Regions from separate parts of the Homo sapiens genome. Here all the other regions are linked to region 1. The links are contacts of gene promoters, found by promoter capture Hi-C in blood cells and fetal thymus (Javierre and others, 2016). All regions are on one chromosome and are shown on one strand. The core of a region is centred on a gene start or on the middle of the fragment in contact, and the rest is flanking DNA. Distances in the headings are between cores, read along the strand shown. Region 1 holds the start of LRRN3 (leucine rich repeat neuronal 3). Region 2 has its middle 480 kb from the start of LRRN3. Region 3 overlaps IMMP2L (inner mitochondrial membrane peptidase subunit 2). Region 4 has its middle 450 kb from the start of LRRN3. Region 5 overlaps IMMP2L (inner mitochondrial membrane peptidase subunit 2). Region 6 overlaps IMMP2L (inner mitochondrial membrane peptidase subunit 2).

Region 1 (2,578 bases), core at 60-2,559:
GAGTGAAAATATTCAGTATTTAAAGACAAGCCTACTGTTTAAAATTTTTCCTGGTATTATTATTATTATAATAACTGCAAACTATTGTTCTATGTCATGTCAATAAGCACTTAAGGAGCAATTAGATGTGAAGGTTTTGTTTTTTTTTTCCTAAGTAAATCTAATAAGTGCCATTTCTCTTTACTCCACTAGAGGGTAGTCTCTCAAAACTGGGGTTGGAGTCATGACTAGCCTGCTTTTGACCTGTTGATATATTAATCCTCATGTTCCATTCTCCTCAACAAGATGTTTCTCTAGTATACTAATTAAGGTTGTAAAACATGCATTTTTAAAACTGCTTTTTGATTTTTCATGTATGTTCTTTCAGAAATATGCACTGCTATGTGTTTCTGTGTTTTCCAAATTTCTGGTAATTAATAAAAATGTTTTACATGTATGGCTTATATAGTATATTTTCCTGGGAAATATCCTTTCAGAGTTAATAGGCCTAAGAATAAAGATAGTCTTTTAAATAATTTAACTTATTACAATCGAAATATTTCCCCAGAGTGGTAAAAAATACATCCTAAATACACACACACACTCACAGATACACAAACACACCTACACATGTACCCATTCATATGTAGCTCCTAGATTTATTACATCATATAAAGAGAAGTCAGTGAGTATAATTAGAAATACATATTTTTAAAAAGTACCCCCTCAAATGCCAATGTTGTGAATTACAGAGAGGCAAATATATGCTTTATTTTAAAAATCTGGTCAATCCAGACAAGAAATGTCATTGCTAAAAAAAAAAAAAAAAAAGTGTTATTGAACACCAAGCACATATGCTAAATTAAGTAGGATCTATAGAGAACCAAATGCCACTCAAAACAGTTGCAAGCTTCTCTTCTTAAATAATGCAGTCATTGCTGAACTTCAGAGACGGAGTTGGAGGTTTGAGTCTCTACCAGGTGTTTTTAATATTTAGGAAATCCTTATCAGTAGTGTGTCCTCTCTATTTGCAGACTGAAAACATATTTCTCTGAATGACTGATAACCTAAAATTGAGAAAACTTGTCAAAAATTCCCAACATTCCCTCAGAAAGGAAAAAAAAGAAGGAAAATGATACCTAGGAAAACATGCAAGCCTGTTTCATTTATTTGTATCCTAAGCAGCAGTGTCATAGAACAGACAGTTTGTTTCAGCCAACCAGACTGGAGCAGCTGCGAGTGCTACATCTTGGCTGTCTGAAGCGATTGGCTCCTCTCTGGGGAGTGGAGGGTGTTCAGTTATTAATGACCGCTGAGCAGGCAGCACCATGTCAGTGTGACAACTGATCGGGTGAACGATGCACCACTAACCACCATGGAAACAAGGAAAAATAAAGCCAGCTCACAGGATCTCTCTTCACTGGATTGAGAGCCTCAGCCTGCCGACTGAGAAAAAGAGTTCCAGGAAAAAGAAGGAATCCCGGCTGCAGCCTCCTGCCTTCCTTTATATTTTAAAATAGAGAGATAAGATTGCGTGCATGTGTGCATATCTATAGTATATATTTTGTACACTTTGTTACACAGACACACAAATGCACCTATTTATACCGGGCAAGAACACAACCATGTGATTATCTCAACCAAGGAACTGAGGAATCCAGCACGCAAGGACATCGGAGGTGGGCTAGCACTGAAACTGCTTTTCAAGGTAAGTTTAAAATACACATATATTTTAAAATACGTTCTATTTCTTGTCTCTTCGATGATCATGTTTTTACACCTAAATCCTCCTTTGATGTCTTCTTCTTGTCTGAATTCTAAGAGCATTTTTCTTTTATTGCACTTTTGAGAAGAAATTCACATGCAAAACCCAGCTGGCTCTGTGTGTGCCTAGCTGTGTTTGTGAGATTCTCCAACATGCATTTTACTAGCTTGAATGCCCATTAGAGGATGTGAGTGGGAGAGAAAAAGCAGTGTTGGGGGGAGGAGAAAAAGGAGGGAGACAGAAGAGAAGGGAACAGTGGGGGAGAAGAGAGGAGGAGAGGGAGAGAGAAGGAGATGGGGAAGAGAGAAGACAGAGAGGAGACAGAGAGGAGAGGAGAGTCACGGGTGATGGGGTGCAATTTTCCTTTTTCTTCACATTATTTGTAGTGAAAAGCAGATCACACATTATTCTCTGTTTTGAAATCAACCCACCAAATGGGGCATTTTTATTTTGTCTCATCCAGTGGATGCAAATTAAGGCAAATGCTGTTGTATGTTAAGAGCTAAACCACTAAGCAGAGTAGCAGAATGAGCATATCACAAACAGTTATTGAATTTCTGCCAGGCTACATCTTACGGACTGGGGTAAATGACTTCCCTTTAATAACATCCCCTCGCTGGTCTGAAGGGACAGTGCAAATGTCTGATTGCTAATGCAGCTGGAACTGCCACACACTAGGTGAAAGGATCCCATGAACCAGAAGAGTTCTAATCTTTGGTAATTAACAGGATCACAGCAGGATGGCTTTAAAGTACATTTCCTATTTAAGAAAATTGTTTGTTCTAACCAACTGCTATATTCCCTTTGCTGTTGTTGAGCTGGATGGCTTAATTC
Region 2 (2,578 bases), core at 52-2,551, 480 kb before region 1:
CAGTTGAGGGTAAGGGAACTATGTTGAAAAGATTAAGTGAAGGTTTATATAATGAACACAGAAATTAAGCCTAAAACTTATAAGAAAGTACAAGGAAGCCCAAATACCCATAACAATCTTTAAGAACAAAGTTGTGGGACTCACACTTTCTGATTTCAAAACCTATTACAAAGCTACAGTAATCAACACACACACATGCACACATATATATTTGTGTATATATAATTGAGAATCAATGTATCTATTGTCAATCAGTTTTCAACAAGGGTATCAAGATCATCTCCTGGAGAAAGAATAGTCTTTGGGAAAATGGTGCTGGGCTAAATGAAACTCTACATTCAAAAGAATGAATTTGGACTCTTACCTTATAACACATGCAAAAATTAATTCAAACTGGATTAAAGATCTAGATGTAAGTGCCAAAGCTATGAAACCTTTAGAAAAGTTAACACAGGTGTAAATTTTCTTAACTTGAATAAGACAACATTTTCTTAAATATGACACCAAAAACATAAGCAACCAAAGGAAAAAATAAATAAATTGAACTGCCTCAAAATAAAACTTTAGTATTTCAAGGGGCACAATCAAGAAAGTGAAAATTCAGTCCACTGAAAATATTTGAATACCATACATCTGTTAAGGGACTTGTATCTAGAATACATAAAGAACTCTTACAACTCAGTAATAAAAAGATAAATAACCCAGTTCAAAAATGGGCAAAGGATCTGAATAGAGATTTTTTCAAAGATGACATAGGAACGGCCAAGAGGAATGTGAAAAATGGTGTTCAACATCAATAGTTATTAGGTAAAGGCAAATCAAAGCCATAAGGAGATGCAACTTCCCATCAACTGGGATGCTTAAATAAATTTTAAGAAAGCATGATAGTGCTTTTCTAAACAAGTTTCATAAACAAGTGTCTATGAGGATGTGGAGAAATTAGAACCCTTACACATTGCTGGTGGGGATGTACAATGTTACAACCACCATGGAAAACAGTAGTTTCTTGTGGCGCTACATATGCAATTACTACGTGACTTAGTAATTGCACTCTTGGGCATTTCTCCCAGAGAAATGACAATTATGTTCATACAAAAACCTGTACCTGGGTCTTCAAAGCAGCTTCATTCATGAAAGCCCAAAACAGAAAGCATCCCAGATGTTCCTCAGTAAGGAAATGGTTAAGCAAACTGTGGTGCATACATACCATGATATCTTACTAAGCAATCAAAAGGAAGCAACTATTGATACATGCAGCAACAACTTGGATGGATCTCTAAGTAATTATGCTGAGTGAAACAAACTTACCCCAAAGGTTACATATTATATGACTCCATATTTATATAATGGTTTTGAAATGACAAAATTTTAGAAATGGAGAACAGGCTGGTGGTTGCTGAGGGTGAGGAAGAACAGGTAGGAGGGGCAGAAGGAAGAGGGTGTGGTTATAAAAGGTGTTTATGTAATCATCATAATAGAAATATTAAATTGATATAATCAAAATTAAAATATACCTAACTCAAAAGGATGGAGGAATGGAAACTGTGGATATTTAGTGGGGGGTGGGACAGAGTGAAAGAAAACTAAATCCCCAGATTTGAGAGGGATTAGTTATTTCTGTGATATTAGCCTCCATTTTCAGTAAATGTTGAGCAAGCATCTCTACCTTGTCAGGCAACATGGTAGGCTCTGGGGACATTAAGAAAAATTAGATTGGCCTCTGCCCGTAGAAGCACATAACTACTCTTCAAATGAAGAATATTTAAATACCTTCGATAAAATCTTGAATCAACCTTTGCTCATGATTACAAATGGTTCCTTCTTGTAGGAAGTGCAGCTACAAATGTTCCAAGGGATAAAGAAGAAGATATAGCTGGGGAACAGATAGCTGTGTTTTTTTGATGTCCCTGTAGACTTCACAACGAGGAGTTCTCCAAATTATTTCAGGCAGGATATATTTCCGGTTTTAAAAAGAGAAAGTCTTTCTCCTCCTAGAGACAGAGAAACAACACTGTCATAAAACACTGAGAACACATTACTTCATGTTCACCATAGAAGCACTGAAACAAAGTTTTTCTGACTATATAGGTTAAACAAAAATGACCTATTCTTCTATTCCAAATGGGAAATAATAAATGACTGATAACCAAGGTCTCAGCCAATAACCTCCTTTCAAATCAAAAGTTGATATATAATGGATCTTAGTCTCCTCAGCATATTAATAATGACTATATTACCAACATTATAATTAACGTTATATTAATAATAATTAACAATGATAACGACATGTACCATAAAATGTTTTTAAATCTTATTCTTTTCTAGATTAATTTCCTTTTTTCTCTTAGGGTCTAAATCAACTCCTCATGAATCACACCCTGCCCCACTGTCATATCAGCAATTTTAACTTAAACAGAAAATTATATTAATTGCTTTGGATCAGATCACACATTACATTCTCCCATTTATATACTCTCCTTTGACTTCTCTGACAGTGATGCTCTCAATGAATCCTTTTCATATATAATAATAGGGCTTCCTCAGCTGAGGGCATAATACCTCCTGGATCTGCCTGACT
Region 3 (2,578 bases), core at 40-2,539, 460 kb after region 1:
TTCAATGATGGCCTTAGAGAAGTCTCAGTAACTTAACTAAGGATACGTAACTATTAAAAGGAATTCAAGAATCTAATCTACAATTTTTTAGCTCCAAATCCCAGCCTTTTCTTCTAAGCCATGTTTTAGCCCAGTGGTTCTCCACCCTGACTGCCATGAGGACACCTAAGATGCTTTGAAAATATCACTGCCTGGACCTCATCCCCCAGATACTTGATATAATTGCACTGGTTTGTGTTAGCTGTCTAATATATAATAAACCAGTGTTGGTAAATTCACAGAAAGTTTATATCACAAGGGAGAAAATGCTGATACGTCTATATGTAAACTGAAACATATTAACCCCCTAAGAACTCCCTCAAACACAAAAATATCTTGCAATAAAATCACGCAGAACAAGAAGAAAGGGAAGATGAGAAACCCAAGCCCCTTCTGCTGCTATCGTGGGGCCATTAAGGAATATTTTATTCCCCTAATCTTACTCCCCGAACCTCACCATGCCATATCTCAAGCTATAGCTCAGGTATCACCTTTTGTGAGACCTTCAGGATCACAAAAATAATGAAGTCCATTTTTTGCATCTATCTTACCTTGAACTCTATCATAGCACATATTGTCCCTCAAAGCATTGCTTTATTTTTATTTTATTATTATTATTATTATTATTTGAGATGGAGTCTTGCTCTGTCACCCAGGCTGGAGTGCAGTACCACATTCTCGGCTCACTGCAACCTCCACCTCCTGGGTTCAAGTGATTCTCCTGCCTCAGCCTCTGGGATTACAGGTACATGCCAGCATGCCTGACTAATTTTTGTATTTTTAGTAGAGACGGGGTTTTGCCATATTGGCCAGGCTAGTCTCGAACTCCTGACCTCTGGTGATCCACCCACCTCAGCCTCCCAAAGTACTGGTGCTGCTTTATTTATATATCCATTTTTCTCACTGCCCTGAGGGGTCCTTAACCCATTTATGCTGGAGGTTGCAAATTTTTTTTGTGAAAAATCAGGCCTTGGCGATGACCTTGAGAAGTAGGATATAAATAACTCCCACTAGCTTAGCGCTCCAATAATGGAGCACTAGGCATAAATGCATTAAGATCAGATCCCTATGTTACTCATCCTTCCTGCCATATATATCTTTGTATCCAGGGCCTTTACCATAGCAGATATTAATACATGTTGGCTATGCTGAATGATTTTTATGTTTGTTATCATTATTTCCTCCATTCTCCTAGCAGACACTCCTGTGAAATTTTTCAACTTTTAATAAAGGAAAATGGAGTTTTTACGCACAACTGGATTAGGTTAGAGAATAATGTATGCAAAAGGGCCAGACGTAGTGAGAGCAAGACAGCAGTGAACTGTGGGGCAGGAAAGAATAGAGTAGAAAGGACATTTAAAATTCATATCTGACAGTTGGGGTCAGATATGAATTTTGCAAGCCGGGAAGGAGTAGGCAAACAAAGCGACAACCTAATCTTCATTCACAAAAAAAAAAATATGACAAGCAAGGAATCAGGCAACTGTATTTTCAACATCTCCCTTTCTATGGTGTTTCTAACTCACAGCATACAGACATGTTGTTTCTCTCTCAAAAAATAAAATCTGAAGCAGTGATATGATTTCACTATGTATTTGACTTTTTTTTAAGATTCCACATGTGAGATAATACAATATTTTTCTTTCTGCATTTGGCTTACTTCACTTAGCATAATGTCCCCTAGGTTTACCTATCTTATGGCAAAAAGCAGAATCTATTTCTTTTTTAAGGCTGAATAATATTCCATTCTATATATGTACTGCAGTTTGATTTTCTGTTGTCTTTTGTTGGACAGTTAGGTTGTTTCCATATATTCACACCCATCAAGATGGCTACTACCAAATAAAACAAGAGATAAGTGTTGGCGAGGGTGGGAGAAAAGAGAACCCTTGTATACTATTGGTACAACCATTATGGAAAAAGTAGGGAGGTTCCTAAAGAAATTAAAAATAGAACTACCATTACTTCTATTTTGTACCAATTAGCCATCCCTCTTCTGTGTGCATGTATATATATATATATATACATACCCAAAGAAAATGAAACCGCAACCTTGTAAAGATATCAGTCGGAATTTTTAAAAGCTCTCTAGGGGATTCTAATATGTGTGCATACAGAGATGGAGAATAAAACAGTGATCCCAGGGGAGGGGGAAGGAAATTGAGATGTAGGTCAAAGGACACAAAGTAGCAGCCATGTATAATGAAAGAGTTTGGGAACTCATGTACAGCATCAGTACTATATAATACTGTATTGTATTCCTGACTTTTGCTAAATGAGTAGATTTTAGCTACTCTTGTCATACACACAAAAATGGATAACTATGTAAGATGATGGATGTTACTATGTCTCACTACAGTAACCATTTTACTATTTACATGTATTCCATAACATGTTATTTTCCTTAAATATACACAATAAAATGTATTAAGTAAATACCCTGACTGAAGAACAATTATCTCCTAAGAGGGACCCAAGCATATCTACTCTCTATTCTCATGTCCAGCCCCCTTCAGCCTCATCTCCTATTCAGTCCTTT
Region 4 (2,578 bases), core at 34-2,533, 450 kb before region 1:
CAGCTGGTCCCATGGGACGCCAGCCCCTTCCTGCCAAGCATAGCTCCATCAAAGGAGCCTTTAGAGCCACTGCCTCTGGGAAGCTCCTCTGCTCTCACTGGGGCTGGCGGCCCTAAGACACAGCAGTTTTGATGTCTCGCCCTCACATGGAAGGTGGCTAACACTTGGCCCGATGCCCACTTGTCCCCATGACATATCCACCAGCCTCAGAGGAGCTACCTGTCAGGCCCAAGCTCTTGTTTGTTTGCAGAGAAGGTGCAATTGGGGACAAGAAAAGGTGGGAGCTGTAGGAGTAGAAAGGTCTGGGACAGTGGATGGTAAGAGCAGTAGGCAGGGAAGGAAAAGGGGGAAGGATTTGAGAGACCAAATGAGATTAAATGAAGCCACCAACCTAAGTCAGATATAAGGAATTACAGTCATAAAAGTATCATATGTGATAATTTAAAAAACCCACAATGTATAGGAATATACAGGAAACTTGCTACTAAAGGAAAGAACTTGAACTACACGTAAAAAAAAAATTGTCAACACCTCTTAGAAAAAAAAATAGATCACATTTCTTTATTTCAGAAGGCAGAAGAAATTGCAGAGAGAAAAATTTTAGATCAATGTAAGGAAAGTTGTCAAACAAATAATCCTATCTTAAATTTAATGGGCTGTCTATATGACAACACATTTTCCATCACTTGGGCATTTAAACAAAGCTTAGATAATTACTTCTCAGGGATGATATATATTGATAAAGACCTTCTAAATTCCTTAAATCAAATGTCCAGTATTCTTCCCCTCAATTGCAATAACTGCAAAGACGACCTTTCTGCAATCCCTCATAGCAAGAGAATTTTAAGTAGAAGGACTAAAAACCTTTATAAGATAAATAATGTTAGAAGAACTAAGGGCATAAAAGGGAATCTTAAAATATTTTAAATATCAGCAAAAACTGAGACAATAAAAACCCACAAACAAAGCAAATAAAGATGTTATCTTTAATTTTTATATAACTTAAATAGTAAGAATGGGTTCTGAGATGAAATTTTCAGACCATCCATTCCTCAGGATCTCCCTTTTTATTCATTGTCAAAGACATGCTTAAAATCAATTGTGCTCTGTTTGAGGAAAGCATTGCATTGTGAGAGGCATTTTCCCTCACCTTACCCTCTCCCATCTTTTCTTCCCTCCAAGAGGTCAATGCCTTTTGGATTTTATGAATCAGAGTTATGAGCTTGGACTCCCAAGTCCAACTCTACCGCATGGCTGCAGGATGACGAAGACTTCAAATAACATGCTACTGTTGCCTTATTCAGCATATCTGCTCTAGCAGCAAATGAGTGTTTTCAAATCTCTAAACACAGGATATTCACCAGGAGATTCTAGAATGTGGCAGGATACTTGGACTTGGCTCCCCAGCCTGTTTTTGAGGACTCCTTCCTGACTTCTGCTCCTCTCACTATACAGGAAGGCCATTCTGAGACCCAAATTACTCACCTTCTGCCTTCCTTTTCCTCTCTGAAAACCACTGCAATAAACCTCTACTCCTAGTTTTCCATGTGCTCAATCCCCATTTTCTTCTCCCAAATCCCCAATCCTCCCCTTTCTATTATTTCCCATAGTGGACAGTTAATATTTGCTTATCCTTAGAACAAAATTCTCTTGATTGCTAAATAGGTATAGAAAAGTAAATTTGACTATGCTAGACTTTTGTTTCAGGGAAATTCATGGTCAGAAAGAAGTCATATACTATATGCACTTTCCCAAAGAGACACATTTCAATTACGTTCTTCATTTTGGTAAAAATGTAATGATCATTCACTACAAATTATAATTAACTCTTTAGAACAGGAGAATTTCTTCTCTTTAAAAGAAAAGCTTTAATATGAACTTTTAAATAATAGCACACAGTTATTTCTATAAATTGATTAAGAATAAGTGACCAATAGAAAAAATACATACTCATGAGCTGGACCCAAGTTTAAAGGTTATATTTAATGAAGGTAAGGGGGCAAGAGAGGGACAAGATTTTTTGAGGAAAACAAATCTTTCCTTTCAGTTTCATGTTAAAAAATTACCATCAGAATTGTTTGTTATTATTACTTAATAAACTTTAAAAATGCATGTATATGTTCATTATTACAAGGGCAGGGAGGGATATGTAAACACACAGGGGCAAAGAGAGAGACACATGGAGGACAGGGAGGTGTGCAGGACAGGATAGTGCCATGCTCTGGGGTTAAAGAGAATAAAGGAGTGAGGAAGGAGGTTGAAAAAGAGGAAGAACTACATTTCTGAGAAAAGCAAGACAGCTGTGCCAATGAAAAAAAGAATAGCATGAGGGAACAAGAAGATCAACATCTTCTACTGGCCATAATGACATAAAAAACAAATGATTACCAGCTGTTATGAGTGATTCCTTCAGACAGGTTGACAAAGTGGTAGCTCATTCACCAATTTGGCATCATAAGGGTGTTTATATTTTTTAACTGGATTTGAATACTGTTAGATTCTGCATTTCTTCCCCAGTTTACCACTAGCCTAAGCACATCTTAGCATCTAAAATTTTAGGAGGAATTTAAAAAAGGGT
Region 5 (2,578 bases), core at 29-2,528, 430 kb after region 1:
AAAGTCTACGTTTCCCTAAGGATTGAGTCTAAGACAAGGCTGCTAGGAATTCAAGATTAAAGAGGCAACGAATGTAAAATACATTCTATCTTAAACATATTAAAGTGTATTTAAAGCCATATGCCTATAAATCTTTCTTTCTATGTTTACTGTACCCCTACATTAAGATATTTTGGCATTCAAAGTAAGTGACCAGTTTGCTTTGGGCTGGTGATCCACTATGGAGAGAACCTGAAAGACACGGTTGAGAGCAGAATCTTCTGCCCAAGAAAAGGCCCTAACCATGCTCAAATGATGGAAGTAGAATATAAAGGCAGTCCTGTTTTAAAAATGTAGCTTTTCCCAAAGAAGCTAAAGGATTTCCTGACCTTCTGTATCTGACTACCAGAACTCAGGGAGAAGTTCAATACCATAATTATAATAAATAAAGCAAACTAATTCTAACTCCTTAAAGCTGATAACTATGCCCTTAACTAGTTCTAACTGAAACAAAAAGAAAAAAAATTAAGCTGGTTATTCTCTGTATAATTTTGATTTTTTAGAAGCTTATATATTCATTTTAGTTATTTGTTTTATACAACTATTTACCACAACGCATGAACTTAATACATATTGATAATACAGGAAACCAAATCCTATAACAAAATGCAAATTCTGCCTAACTGCTTAAACTTACTAAAAAAGCTAGGTTCTAGACATCAACTTTAGGACAACATAATTTTCTCTAAGTTATTCCAGAAGACTATTTGCATAAAACTTTTGGAAATCTCCACTCCAAAGTTCTTCCACTGTAAACTGCACTTAATCTTTTCAATTAGCAACATGCTTAAAGAACACAATACAATATCTGGGATCAATGGTCTAGACATTTCTACAAACTGAAATCATATACCTATATAACAAGAGAGCAACTGATTGTGACTCAAACCCATCTTGCAACTACACTAATAATTTGGCATTAAAAGGATATTCTAATAGAGCCATATTCACAGAAAACAGTGTCATTTAGTATAATTTCTTAAGAATCTCCATTTAAAATTCTCAGAAAAATTTAAACTACAGACCCAGAGAACTGATAGTTACTTTTATTAACCTCTCCTCTGATTATAATACGACTGTATTAGAAGACCTTAAGAACAAATTCAGTAAAGTAAAATTTCATTTCAATGCCTTTTTATAACCTTTCAGTTCCCAGAATAGGAATAATAATTAGCACTCTCATTTCTAGTGCTTGAAAAACAATGAAGTATGTGCTTTAAAGAACGAAGTTATATCATTTTCACCTGCATCGATGCTCCTTCTACTCTTGCCACACAGGCGACCCGATCCAAGAAAGTCACTGCCACAGGCACCGCCACAAAGAAGCCTTTACAAAAGGCCTTGATGTATCTTTTCACCCACCCTTGTGACTGTGCCATACCTAAAAATACAAAGAAAACAACTATGAAATTAGTCTCAAGAAAGGTGAAAAACAAAGACATAAAAACAGTACATGAAAAGTAAGAGTTACCGAAGGGCAATCTTGTCTCTTAATATATTACACACTCATTCCTGTAACCATTAGAATAAATCTGACTTACTTAAAGTCCTAAAGTGAAATACGTGAACTCAGGTTAATGCTTTTCCACAACTCAAGTCCACTTGCTAACTTCAGTGGGAAATTTCTCCCCACAAAACAGTAAGTTAGAAAAAAACAAGCATTCCAGAAGTAAATTCTTTTCTGTTGCTATTATGATGAAGTTACTCCTTATACCCCTGATATCTGTTCTCTTCTACAGTAATAAAAGTTTCAGTGGAACATGTGGCTGCCCAACTAAAGACTGTTTTCCAGCCTCCCTTGCAGCTAATTGTGACCATGTCACTGGATTTGATCAACAGCATGAGTAGAAAGGATATAATTCTTGGTTGCACCCTGAAAAGGAGGATGCCCTCCCTTTTCTTCCCCATTTTATAACTGTAATACTAACAATTTGGTGGTAGGAGCAGGGGTGGCCATCTCAAACTATGAGATAAAAGCTTCAAGTAAAGATGACAAAGCAACAAAATGGAACGATCCTAGGTCCGCAACACCATGGAGGCACCATACTGTCCTGCATTGCTTACATTTGGACTGTTAAATCACAGATAAATCACTTGCGCTGTTTGTGGTGGCAGTGTTGGTGTTGTTGTTGTCGTTGTTGTTTTTAGACAGGGTCTCACTCTGTCACCCAAGCTGGAGTCTTGGCAAGACTTTTTTGGATAAGACTTCAAAAGCACAGTCAATCATAGCAAAAACAGACAATGGAGATTACATCAAGCTAAAAAGTTTCTGTGCAGCAAACAATCAACGTAATGAAGAGACAACCTACAGAATGGAAGAAAATATAAGGAAACTATACTTCTGACAAGAGGCTAATATCCAAAAACGCATAAGGAACTCCAACAATTCAATAGCAAAAAGACAACCCAATTAAAAAATGCCCAAGAGCTTAACAATAATTTCTCAAAAGAAGACATACAAATAGCCAACAGGTATATGAAAAGAATGCGCAGTCATGAGGGAAATGCAAATCAAAACCACATGGATATCATTCCACCC
Region 6 (2,578 bases), core at 33-2,532, 330 kb before region 1:
GAATGAATTTAAATATAAATTTCTGAAAGGAGGCTGGTCAAATAAAATAGCATGATATGCGAGGAAAGATATGGACTAAATGGATACTAAGGCAGAAGGTTTGTATAAGTGTTCATGAGAAAAGGAGGTTCATGATGCATATTCTTATTAATTCTAAGTATTTTATAAAGAGGCCCTATTTTCAAAAATGGCTATGGTAAAAAGAGTCAGGGAACACATTCTTGACTAGGCTTTAATATTAAAAACAGATTTTGGAGCTGCTTTATTTCCTTTCTTGGTAACATGTATGTACAGACAGACTTAGGGATTTACTTGTTTCCTTAAGAAAGTATATACATGCCCTTGTTCAACTTTTATTTCTAGGGGAACCCTGACATCAATGAACTACTGAAGTTATAGCTTCAATAATTTCAAATAAGAGAGGATACAAATGAATTGAGTTTATGTTGTGTGAATTTTCAGAATTGAACTTCCTGGCAGAAGCAAAGTTGCTTATTATTATTAGATTCATTCTTTCCCAACCCAGTTACTCCTTTTACCCCTGCTGTGAGGTCTCTGTCTTTGAATTCTTTATTAAGCTTTTTAACAGACAATCTGCTCCAGCACTTTCTGAGGAGAAAAAAAGCTTCCTTTTCTCCCCACAATGCCAGTTAAGCCTTCCATTTAATATGAAATCAAGTGGAGACATCTGTGCTTTGTCATCACAAAAGAAAACCGTTTTATTTTTCTAATTATTATCTACTTATCAGCCTTGGGTTGAGAATTCACTTGCTTTTGTGCCACCTTGAGAATTCAGTCTCAATTCTCCACGTCCAGGCCTAAGATAGTATCATTCCCTTTCTATTAGTGTTTATCTGCATCTGCCTTAGAGAAGTTGTTTACATCCAATATTGGACTACCCTTCACATTAAGTTTAAATTGGAAACTTCTTTTTCTAATAGAGATAATCTGTATAGTGTTCAGGAAACTACAATAATTCAGCAATAGATGAAAATGTTTTAAAACTGTGAAGGGCTCTGAAGCTGATGTTTTCCATTATCAGTTGTTTGTTTAGGTAAATTACATTAAAGGTCAGAAATGAAATGCCCATACCAACAACTAGACTGAGAAGTGGTCTATTACTCACTGCTTTCAGCTTATATAAAAGAGTTTTTGTTGTCCCCAACTCCCAGGAGGGCAACTGCTGGGAAGGAATGAAGTTCCTAGAAGATACCAATCCATATTGAAAGGGAGCAACGTGTTGGTTACGTTTTCCTTCCAACATATCACAGAATTGAATCTTTTTTGGTCTGTGCTTTCTTTTTGTTCTACAATATATTTATTTCAAAATCTCTCATAGCACTTCAATACCTGGAATATCTCAAAAGGTTTGCTGACTATTGTTAACAGCTCTGACTAAACACCTATTTCTTACTACAAGTGTAGAACGCCAGATAGGATCATCACAGTAGGCACCTCACAAAGGTCATGCAGACCTTAGAGGAAATTATGGCCCAACAAGCCACAGGAGCCAGAGAAGTCAAACCAGATGTATAAGTGACATAAGTGGGTTGGAGAATAGAGAAAGCAAACATTGCAATGCAGCGATATCAGGTGAATTTGAAAAGCATCTGCTACCAAATACAGGGCTTGCTGATGAGTAAGGGAGAATGAGAGCTGTTGGTGTATCAGAGCAGTTCTTCCTATGGATGGCTGAGATTCAAAGCTGGTCCACCTTTCAGCCAGTCAAACTTTAAACTTTTGGTGGCAGCAAACATCTCTAACATAGTGGGATTCCAGAAGGGGACTAAGTGGTTTCTCAGTCTGTAGAATATGAGCACTCCACTAGAAAAACAAATGGGAAATAATGACTTCTTGACGATGGGGATGGTAAAAAACGAAAATATAGCCATTCCTCTTTATCTACCTCACATCAAGCCCTGCTGACTGTTTAGCAAACAAAGCTTTCCAATGATCAATGATGTCCTTTCCATGACAGAAGAATCTTGAACTCATCAACCTAGATTCGATATAGTACTAGGGTGGAATTAATGCCATCTCTATTTAGGCTGGTTATAAGAAATCAAGAACACTATGCTGAAGTCCTTCCTAATGATCTCCAAAAGTAAACATATTCTACAGGAAGGATTCACAGTGTCATAAAATTGAAGTAGATATGCATCAATCAAGTACCTCTCAGGAGATTTTAAATTTTTATGAAAATAACCATTTATACTTATCAGATGCTTACTGTAGGCTGGGAACTTACTATGTGTAAAGGCTAACCTCATTGACATGTATTGTCTAATGTAATCCTTACAACTATCTTGTGAAGCAAATATGATTACAAATCCAATTTCACAGATGAGGAACCTGAGGCTTAAAGAGTTTAAACAAACACTTAGCTGTTAATTGGCAGCTTGAGCCCTTAACATCTATGCCATGCTGAGTATAAATCACAGCTTATTCATTTCTCTAACTTCTGACCTCTAGTGTCATCATGACAATTGTCAGGTCTACATAACATACCTTAAATGTTCTGTTTGTACCAAAGCTAAACACTGCCAGCATAGCTCCCTGGTCAACACGGGGTCCGTAC

The links. Contacts are between HindIII fragments. The CHiCAGO score rates a contact against its expected background, and 5 or more counts as called.
Region 2: a contact is called between a fragment that was not itself captured here and the fragment with the promoter of LRRN3 in region 1, in 1 of 17 cell types (activated CD4 T cells). The highest score is 7.2, in activated CD4 T cells.
Region 3: a fragment that was not itself captured here is called in contact with the fragment with the promoter of LRRN3 in region 1 in 1 of 17 cell types (M2 macrophages); the score reaches 5.9 in M2 macrophages.
Region 4: a fragment that was not itself captured here is called in contact with the fragment with the promoter of LRRN3 in region 1 in 2 of 17 cell types (activated CD4 T cells and non-activated CD4 T cells); the score reaches 6.4 in activated CD4 T cells.
Region 5: a contact is called between a fragment that was not itself captured here and the fragment with the promoter of LRRN3 in region 1, in 2 of 17 cell types (total B cells and naive B cells). The highest score is 5.5, in total B cells.
Region 6: a contact is called between a fragment that was not itself captured here and the fragment with the promoter of LRRN3 in region 1, in 1 of 17 cell types (activated CD4 T cells). The highest score is 5.0, in activated CD4 T cells.

What each region holds. Positions count from the first base shown.
Region 1 is chr7:111,089,818-111,092,395 of GRCh38, forward strand. LRRN3 (leucine rich repeat neuronal 3) reads left to right here and starts at 1,310. Exons shown (of 3, transcript NM_001099658.2): 1 at 1,310-1,687. All of the region lies in intron 3 of IMMP2L (inner mitochondrial membrane peptidase subunit 2), which reads right to left. The HindIII fragment of the contact is 3,940 bases long and covers 888-2,578 here.
Region 2 is chr7:110,610,322-110,612,899 of GRCh38, forward strand. No RefSeq gene overlaps it. Among named protein-coding and RNA genes, the nearest start is that of LRRN3, 480 kb to the right of the region's middle. The HindIII fragment of the contact is 3,027 bases long and covers 1-2,578 here.
Region 3 is chr7:111,553,973-111,556,550 of GRCh38, forward strand. The region is part of intron 1 of IMMP2L (inner mitochondrial membrane peptidase subunit 2); the gene reads right to left. Among named protein-coding and RNA genes, the nearest start is that of IMMP2L, 7.2 kb to the right of the region's middle. The HindIII fragment of the contact is 3,780 bases long and covers 1-2,578 here.
Region 4 is chr7:110,637,356-110,639,933 of GRCh38, forward strand. No RefSeq gene overlaps it. Among named protein-coding and RNA genes, the nearest start is that of LRRN3, 450 kb to the right of the region's middle. The HindIII fragment of the contact is 1,162 bases long and covers 703-1,864 here.
Region 5 is chr7:111,520,030-111,522,607 of GRCh38, forward strand. It overlaps IMMP2L (inner mitochondrial membrane peptidase subunit 2), which reads right to left. Exons shown (of 6, transcript NM_032549.4): 2 at 1,284-1,420. The coding sequence starts at 1,418. Among named protein-coding and RNA genes, the nearest start is that of IMMP2L, 41 kb to the right of the region's middle. The HindIII fragment of the contact is 1,471 bases long and covers 544-2,014 here.
Region 6 is chr7:110,759,387-110,761,964 of GRCh38, forward strand. All of the region lies in intron 5 of IMMP2L (inner mitochondrial membrane peptidase subunit 2), which reads right to left. Among named protein-coding and RNA genes, the nearest start is that of LRRN3, 330 kb to the right of the region's middle. The HindIII fragment of the contact is 1,318 bases long and covers 624-1,941 here.